Linked DNA regions of Homo sapiens: region 2 is linked to region 1. The links are contacts of gene promoters, found by promoter capture Hi-C in blood cells and fetal thymus (Javierre and others, 2016). All regions are on one chromosome and are shown on one strand. The core of a region is centred on a gene start or on the middle of the fragment in contact, and the rest is flanking DNA. Distances in the headings are between cores, read along the strand shown.

Evidence for each region. The method cuts DNA at HindIII sites, captures the fragments that hold promoters and counts their contacts. A CHiCAGO score of 5 or more calls a contact.
Region 2: a contact is called between a fragment that was not itself captured here and the fragment with the promoter of TMEM105 in region 1, in 1 of 17 cell types (monocytes). The highest score is 5.6, in monocytes.

What each region holds. Positions count from the first base shown.
Region 1 is chr17:81,328,430-81,332,107 of GRCh38, reverse strand. TMEM105 (TMEM105 long non-coding RNA) reads left to right here and starts at 1,434. Exons shown (of 3, transcript NR_165247.1): 1 at 1,434-1,964. RefSeq lists enhancers at 1-237, 238-808, 1,952-2,521, 2,522-3,093, 3,094-3,665. The HindIII fragment of the contact is 4,997 bases long and covers 1-2,086 here.
Region 2 is chr17:81,402,107-81,405,874 of GRCh38, reverse strand. All of the region lies in intron 2 of BAHCC1 (BAH domain and coiled-coil containing 1), which reads right to left. Among named protein-coding and RNA genes, the nearest start is that of MIR4740, 3.2 kb to the right of the region's middle. RefSeq lists enhancers at 1-287, 3,079-3,604. The HindIII fragment of the contact is 5,924 bases long and covers 1-3,768 here.

The DNA of each region.
Region 1 (3,678 bases), core at 185-2,684:
AGTTGAAGTGTTGGGTGTTTAAACGCTGTGCCCAGGGCTGTCCAGCCAGGGAGTGGAATCTGGTCCTGGCCCAGAAGGCAGCAGCCCCACCCAGGCCACCTGCTCCAGGTCCCCGGGCTCCACAGACTTTCACATCTACTGCAGAGGCGCAAGGACGTTCCCCAGCATCAAAGCCCTCAGACCCTGGTGCCAGCCACGTCGTCACAGAACTTGTAGACCAGAGGATGCCCTGCGGATAGAGGGCCTGCCCTGGGCCTGCGCCAGGCTGGGCATATTGCTGAGGTCCCTGCTCTGTGCTGGCAAAATCCAGACCTCAGGAGAGGGGCAGGCAGGCTCTGAGAGGTTGCGGCTGCCCAGGGCCTGCAGCTGGGAGGAGCGGAGACAGACCCCCCCTCCCCTGGGACACAGTTGCTCTGCACCACACAGCTCCGCTCCTGGCGTCCCCTGGCTTTGCCGGGGGCGGCCGACCCAGCTGGCCAGGCCCCCTCCCCCTGCCCCACAGGTGGCCCTGAGCTGCTGAGGATAAGGCATGCTGGGCGATCTCTGCTGATTAGAGTCGCCCTCCGCTGTGGGCTAGGGGCCCCTATTTTGCTCCTGAGATCCCAGTCGGCCCATAGAAGCCCTCACAGGCTCTCCCGGGGGTCCAAGGAGTCCCAGGAGGCCCCCGTTCACCCCGGGTTTGCCTTCTCCCTCCTGTAATTTGCTTTTCATATGCGTGAAGGGGAACTCAGCAGGAGCAGAAGATGATGTGGCCTCGTGGGAGCGTGGGAGAGCTGGGACGGGGTGGTGGGGAGGAGCGGGGACCCAGGGACAGGGGCTCTGGGTCCAACCACCAGGCCTTTTGCACTTCGTGCTCTCTGTAGCCTCAGCTTCCCCCGAGGGTCAGGAACTCCAGGCAGGGGCATGGGGCAGCTCAGAAACCTTCCTGAGCCCCTTCCCCTGGCAAGAGGCAAACCAAGCAGGTGAGGGCTGGGCCCTGTTCTCAGAGCTGGCATCCCAGCCCTGGCCAGATCCAGGCTGAGGGCGGCCCAGCCCCCTGTTCTGCCTGGTGCAGAGGACACGGCTTCCCTGGCCGGAGCCCCCGCCCCCTCCTCTCCTTTCTTGGCGTCTGCCCCTGGGCGTGCCCTACCATTAAGCCCTTGTTGGTTCCACAAGCTGGGGGCACCCCTTCCTCCCTTCCTCCGGGCAGCCATTGGCAATGGCTGGCGGCTCGGGACAGGGCCCGTATTCTCTGAAAATGATGGCTGGGCTGGAACCCGGGATCGATTCTCAGACCTGCGTCATGTGGAGTCCCGGATGCTTGTTACGAATTCGGACCCTGGCCTGTGCCTGCTCCCTGGTACCTCTGAACAGGGCTTTCTGCCCTGGGGGTGTGAAGAGGGCCAAGTCCACTCCCCGACTGGGGTCACGCCTGCCTCCTGTCAGGACTGTGAACACTGCGTCCCCATCAGCTCAAAGAATACGCATGGGGACAAGCCTGGGGGGCCGTCTGAGAGTCCCCCAACCCTGGATCCCCACGGCAGCCCCCACTGTTGGGTTTTTCAGTGGCTGGTGTGCCCTGGGCTGGTCACCTCTGCATTTTGCTCTGCTGGGAGTTTGCTCCTGGCCCTCCAACAGCGCCTCCTCTGTGAGGAGGAACTCCTGTTCCCGTGGCTCTGCTGGCTCTGGAGGCTGGAGTTCCCGTGCTGGGCCCTCCTGGGCGGGTTCTCTCTTGCTGCCGCCAGTACCCTGCCCCTCTCGTCCTCCTGGGTAGCCTGGGAGGAATGGCAGAAGAAAGCAGTGAAGCCAGGTAGCAGTAGCCCGGCCACCCCACCAGGCTCTGCTGTAGGCTGGGCTCTCAAGGCAGCTGCTCCAGGAGGGGCCCCCTAGGAAGGGACTGCCACACTCCTGGGAGCGTTCCTGGCCCCCTCCAGTGCAAATGACCCTGGGCCCCAAGGCTCCGAACACCCGCCCCTCTGCTCCAGGTAAGAGGGAGATGTGGGTGGTGCCTGGACTGTTGTGTGCTTAGGTGGGGGAGTGGAGCCTTCAGGTCTCAGGAACCCACAAATGCTTGTTGAGCTGATGAACCCTGCAGAGATGAGAAGCTTAGGCCCAGAGAGCTGATGCCACCTGCCTGGGGCCACAAAGTCCACTGGGCAGAGGAGGGTGGGAACCCCAGTCCTTGGCCCCACTGTCAAAGCGGGTGCTTCCCAGGGAGAGCAGAGCCTGGGGTCAGTGCGGAGGACACTGGATCCCCAGTTCCGGGCTGGGGAGAGGCAGCTGGTGTTTCAGTGCTGCAGAGAGGGCCAGGCCGGCCTCAGACACCCTCCCCGAGGCCTGTGTGGGGGTGGAGGGCGGCCACACCTGTCCCACTGCAGGCCCTGGGGTGGGGTTTCCTGTCTGTGCTGGAGCCCGGTCAGGTTTCTCACTTCGCCCGGGGCAGGGGTGCAGGGCAGATGGCCCAGCCAGTCATGAGTCACCAGCCCAGCCTGCCGGCCTGCCTGACAAACGGGAAAGACCCGGCGGGTAGGAGCTGGGCTGGGAGCATCCTAGCTGGGCCTGGGCCAGCCCCTTCCTGGGAGAGGAGGGAAGCTGCCTCAGGCCTCCGGGGAGAAGCTCCCACCTGGCCCGGACCCTCCTCCCTCCTCCCTCCTCTGGCGGGGTGAGTGGGCTGAGGGCCTGCTGGGCCCCTGCATGGTGGGAAAGTTTGGGGAGGGGAGGGGTTTCCAAGCCTCAGCCGTCCAGGCCTACGCATCCCAGATCTCGCTCGCTCCACAGCGCTGTGCCATGTCATGGGCTTCTTTTTTCCTGGTCCGAAGTGTTAGTATCTGCGAAATTGCAGGCTTGATGTGTTGGCTTTATTTTTCTAACACACACTAAAATAAATCATGCGTGTTTTACAGTGTGTTGGGGCCATCTGTGGGTCACGGACGGCCCTTCTGGCCTGGGGGCTGGCCAGCTCTTTCTGTAGGGTCCAAAGAGAGCTTGAGTCCCCAGCTGGGGTAACCCAGGCAGGGATTTTCCCGACATGTAGCCCCAGAGCAGGGAGGCTGTGGCTTTGAGGAGAGGCGGAGTCCTCAGCCCAGCCTTCCTCAGGCCTCCAGAAGCAGCCTCGCCAGGCAGCCTGGGTCTGCCACCCTGCAGACAGTGTGCAGGGCAAGGGAAAAAGGACAGGCCTCTCTCCAGCCCCACACCTGCCCACGCCTCTCCTGGAATTGCCCCCATCAGAGCCCCTTGGGGGCTCATTTTCAAGTCCCCTGCCCCTACTCCGGGGACCCGGGTAGCCCTGGGCTAGCCTCTCCTCCCTGGGCCCCGCCGTCCTCATACACACCTTGTCCTTAAGCTGCCTTGGCTCCCAGGGGTGCTCAGTGTGGCCATGGCCGACAGCCCTGGACTCTTACAAATCAAGGGGGAGACACGCGAGGCCCCGCCCCCACCCTGGGCCCGGAGCCAGGTGTCCCTCAGGAAAGGGCTGCTGCAGGTCTGCAGGAAAGTGCAGAGGGTGCCCTGCGGGAGAGACGCCCACACTGCTGCCCAGCACGGGCTGCTGAGAGCCTGCGAACTCAGGCTCTGGGGCACACAGAATGCCCCCACCCCCTGCCTGTCCACCTCTTGCCCAGTCCCTCTTGCGGGCACTGTGTCCTCCCTATGGGGCTGTGAGCCCTGCCCTTGCCAGCCCTGCTCCTGCCCTGGAGACCC
Region 2 (3,768 bases), core at 163-2,662, 74 kb before region 1:
AGACTCTCCGGTGGGGCGTTGGCCAGGACAATCACAGTAGCTGCCTCACAGGATCCAGAGGGCAGAGGACAGAGGACAGGTCCCATTTGTTATGGGCCTATATTCAGGTATTTATGGTAGGGAGGAAGCCAGACCGGGGGGCCCAGAAGCCTCTTCCAGAAGGAAGGGCAGGGGGGCACGATGGAGCAAGGCTTTCTTCCACCAGGAAAGTATTTATTCCCAGCGGCACTGGCTGAACTCTATCTGTGCTTGGGAATTCCCAGCCCAGGGACATGGACAGTCTCGGGCTCAGACCCTGGAGCTAGATCAGGGTATTCTGGGAAATATAGTCCTTTGGGAGTTAGAAGGCCCTGCCAGGATTGGGGGCGGGGGAGGCAGATTGAGTTAAGAAACAGCCAAGGAAGAGGAGGGAGTAAAGGGAGTTACCCTTACTCCAACCCCAGGGTGGATGTTTAAAACTCCTGGGAAGTGGCTATATATAAACATCTGCTGCCTCAAAAGACACCAGAGGCCGGGCACGGTGGCTCACACCTGTAATCCTAGCACTTTGGGAGGCCAAGGTGGGCAGATTGCTTGAGCTCAGGAGCTCAAGACCAGCATGGGAAACATGGTGAAACCCCGTCTCTACTAAAAATACAAAAAATTAGGGCGTGGTGGTACATGCCTGTAATCCCAGCTACTTGGGAGACTGAGGCACGACAATGGCTTGAACCAGGGAGGCAGAGGTTGCAGTGAGGCAGTGAGCCAAGATTGTGCCACTGCACTCCAGCCTGGCAGACAGAGCCAGACTGTCTCAAAAAACAAAAACAAAACAAAAACAAAAACAAAACACACCAGACGATGCTACTATTCTAGCTTCAGATCATATCCACAGTGGCTTTTCTGGTCAAGTAGTTCTGGGGACTCTTATTTTCGTGGGGAGACCTAAAAAGTCCGCAGAGAGGAGGCACCCCAACCAAACCACCCAGGATGAAAGCAGCATTCAGTGATTCCCCACGACTGTTCTCCGGTCCCTGCCTCCAGACACACAGAGAGAAGGAGAACAAAGGTGCCCGCCAGGGGACAGAGGTGCTACCTGCCACGCCTCAGCCTCCAGGAGAGACTGCAGCTGTCCCAAGCGCTCGCACATTATTTATGCTCACAGCCAGCTCTGATGACATATGTAAGTTGACAGCGAACATCCTATCAACTTGCTGGAGTGTATCCTGATTGTTAAAACACTCTTAAAGGTGTACAATCATTTATCAAATTAAAATAGCCGTGCCTTGCCAGTTCTTTTTCTGCCTTCCTGGATGGAACCCCCAATAGTCTCCATCCTCCTCCAGCCTCCTGGGTAATCTGCCCTTGCACCCAGGCCCTGCTTCTCAGGGGACAATGACCCTGCTGCCAGGAGCCCCAGCCTCGGCATCCCCTCCCCACTCTGGCCCAGGCCAGGGCAAGACCACTAATCGCCAAGAAGTGACAAACGCCAGAAGCCCCACCAATTAAATTTAAACTCATGCAAAGCTCAGTGGCTAGTAAATTATTATTTTTATTAGCTTGAACCAAGTTCCCGTAAGAGAGAAAGTCAACTTGCTCCCATGAATGGCTCTTGTATAATTTATTTAACTCTGTGCTCTTTGCCAAAGCCTGGAATATTTTTAGCTCGTTCTGTTGTTGGATTTGGCTTTTTTATGTGTGTTTCTGAGGGGTATTTTTAGCCTCATCCATGTTATTCTAACAGCCTCCTATGCATTTTGTCCTGTCTGTGGGGGCTGTTGAACCCTGTCTCACAGGGAGATGAGAGAAGATTTCTAAGAATAACCGGGGAACGTTTGGGGGGACGCGCGTTTTCCAGGGGAGATGTGCTATTTGCACAACGCCGTTCTCTGCCTGGCTCACTAATTTGCCTTATTACTCACGTGACCTGGATATTCCTACAGAAAGCGCGGCGGCTCCGTACCGGGATAATCAGACGTGGTGGCAGCACGAGCCCCACTGGGGGAAACCCACATTCCAAACAGGGCTTCGGCGGGGCGGGCGTGGCGGGCCACCGCCGCCGGTCCACGCGGCCCCACATTCCCGGATTCCCGTAGCTCCTTTGGGCTCGCGGCAACTTTGATGTCTAACTCTGTCACTTATGGAGCGGGACGGGTGACGTCTTCGGAAAGTAACTCTTTTCACACCTACTTAATGTTGCTAACTGTTGCAGAAACACTCCATCGTGTCATGGAGTTAATGAGGTATTTAAGAAAATGTATTTTTTTCTTTACAAAAAAATATCACATGATGAGGGAGAGGAGCCTGTGATGGGGTCTTTTCACACTAGGAAATTATCTTTTTTTTTCCTCTGCCAAGTTGGGGGTATTTTTTGGTTGTGTTTTTTGGTATTTTCTTTTTCTTTTTTTTTTTTTGAGATTGGCGGTAGGAAGCACTTTTTCAGCAGGAAAGAAGTAGTTTGCAGTTCTCCCACCAGAAGGAGCCTTCGCCTTTCTCCCACAATAACCCCAGGCTCAGAGCACCTGGTTTCCCAGGCTTCAGCAATTTACACCCCAAAGAAGACAAGAGAAGGGGCGGGAGGGGAATCTGAGCAGATTATTGAAACCAAGATGAGAAATAGTGCCTTGGTGGAGCCCTGGCCCCTGGAGAGGGGAGGCGTACAGACCAGGACAGGAGCGGGCCCAGCCAGAAGCCAGGACGGGGGGCTGTCTATGTGGGCCTCTCCCCAGGCCGGGGCTGCCTCGGATCACACACACACTCCCAGCAGAGGCGCCAGCCCCAGTGGCTCCAGGCAGTAGCACTGATGAAAAATCTTGGGTTGGTTCTTGTTGATTTCTCTTTTCTCCCCCCTAGATTTCACAGCTTTGCCTCCGGACCATCTGTATTAGAGACAAAATCTAACACTGAACTAAAAATAATGATTCCAAACATTTTAATTGCACCTTTTGGTGACAAGGTTACTGGAACAGCACTTTACCATAAAACCTGCGGCCCGAGTCTAAAGCTCCCAGCACTTTCATTTTTAGAAAAACAATGGAAGAAGCCTGGGAGCCCCATGTCCCCACCCATCAGGGCCCCTCAGACTGACATTCTGAAAGTGTTGGGTGGGGTTGGGGAAAGGCAGCCCCGGCAGCCAGCAGGAACAGCCTCAGTCCAGCCGGGGTGGCAGTGCCAGGCCAGACAGGCACAGGAAGAGCAGCCCAGCAAAAAGAGGCAGCCTCATGGAGGCCAGGGCCTCCATCCCCGATGGTTGGATTCTACTCCCAGACAGGCGGGAAGAATCCGGGTCAATTTTCCTTTCCAAGGGGCAGTCAGCAGAGGGAGGGGCGGGCTGGCTGCAGCTGTGGCCTGCGGACTGAAGCCATCCAGGAAAATGGGAAGCAAGGCAGCCAAACCAGCCATGTGGAAGTCCGCACACAAGACGCAAAAAAATTGTTTAACGTAATTATGCTTTTTTCTCTCTAAACTAGATCATATATAGACACAGACCAAAGCAAAGTGATCTGGGGTATAATTCTTTTTTTAAAAAAATACATGCAGCTAAATTTTAAAAACCAATACAATATTCTGGCTCTTAACAATTTCAAAAGGCTTTCTTTCAGCTACAGATGCTTCTAGCTGGATGTCTGCATGACCAAGTTGCCCATCACAAATGGGTTGAACATCTCCGAGCACAAGCGTTCTCTTCGGTCCGCAGGGGGGAGGAAATGGGGCCTCCAGGGACGGGGACACATGACCCTTCAGACCCTGAAAGAGGCAGCCCCGAGGGGCCTCCAGCGCCCTCTAGAG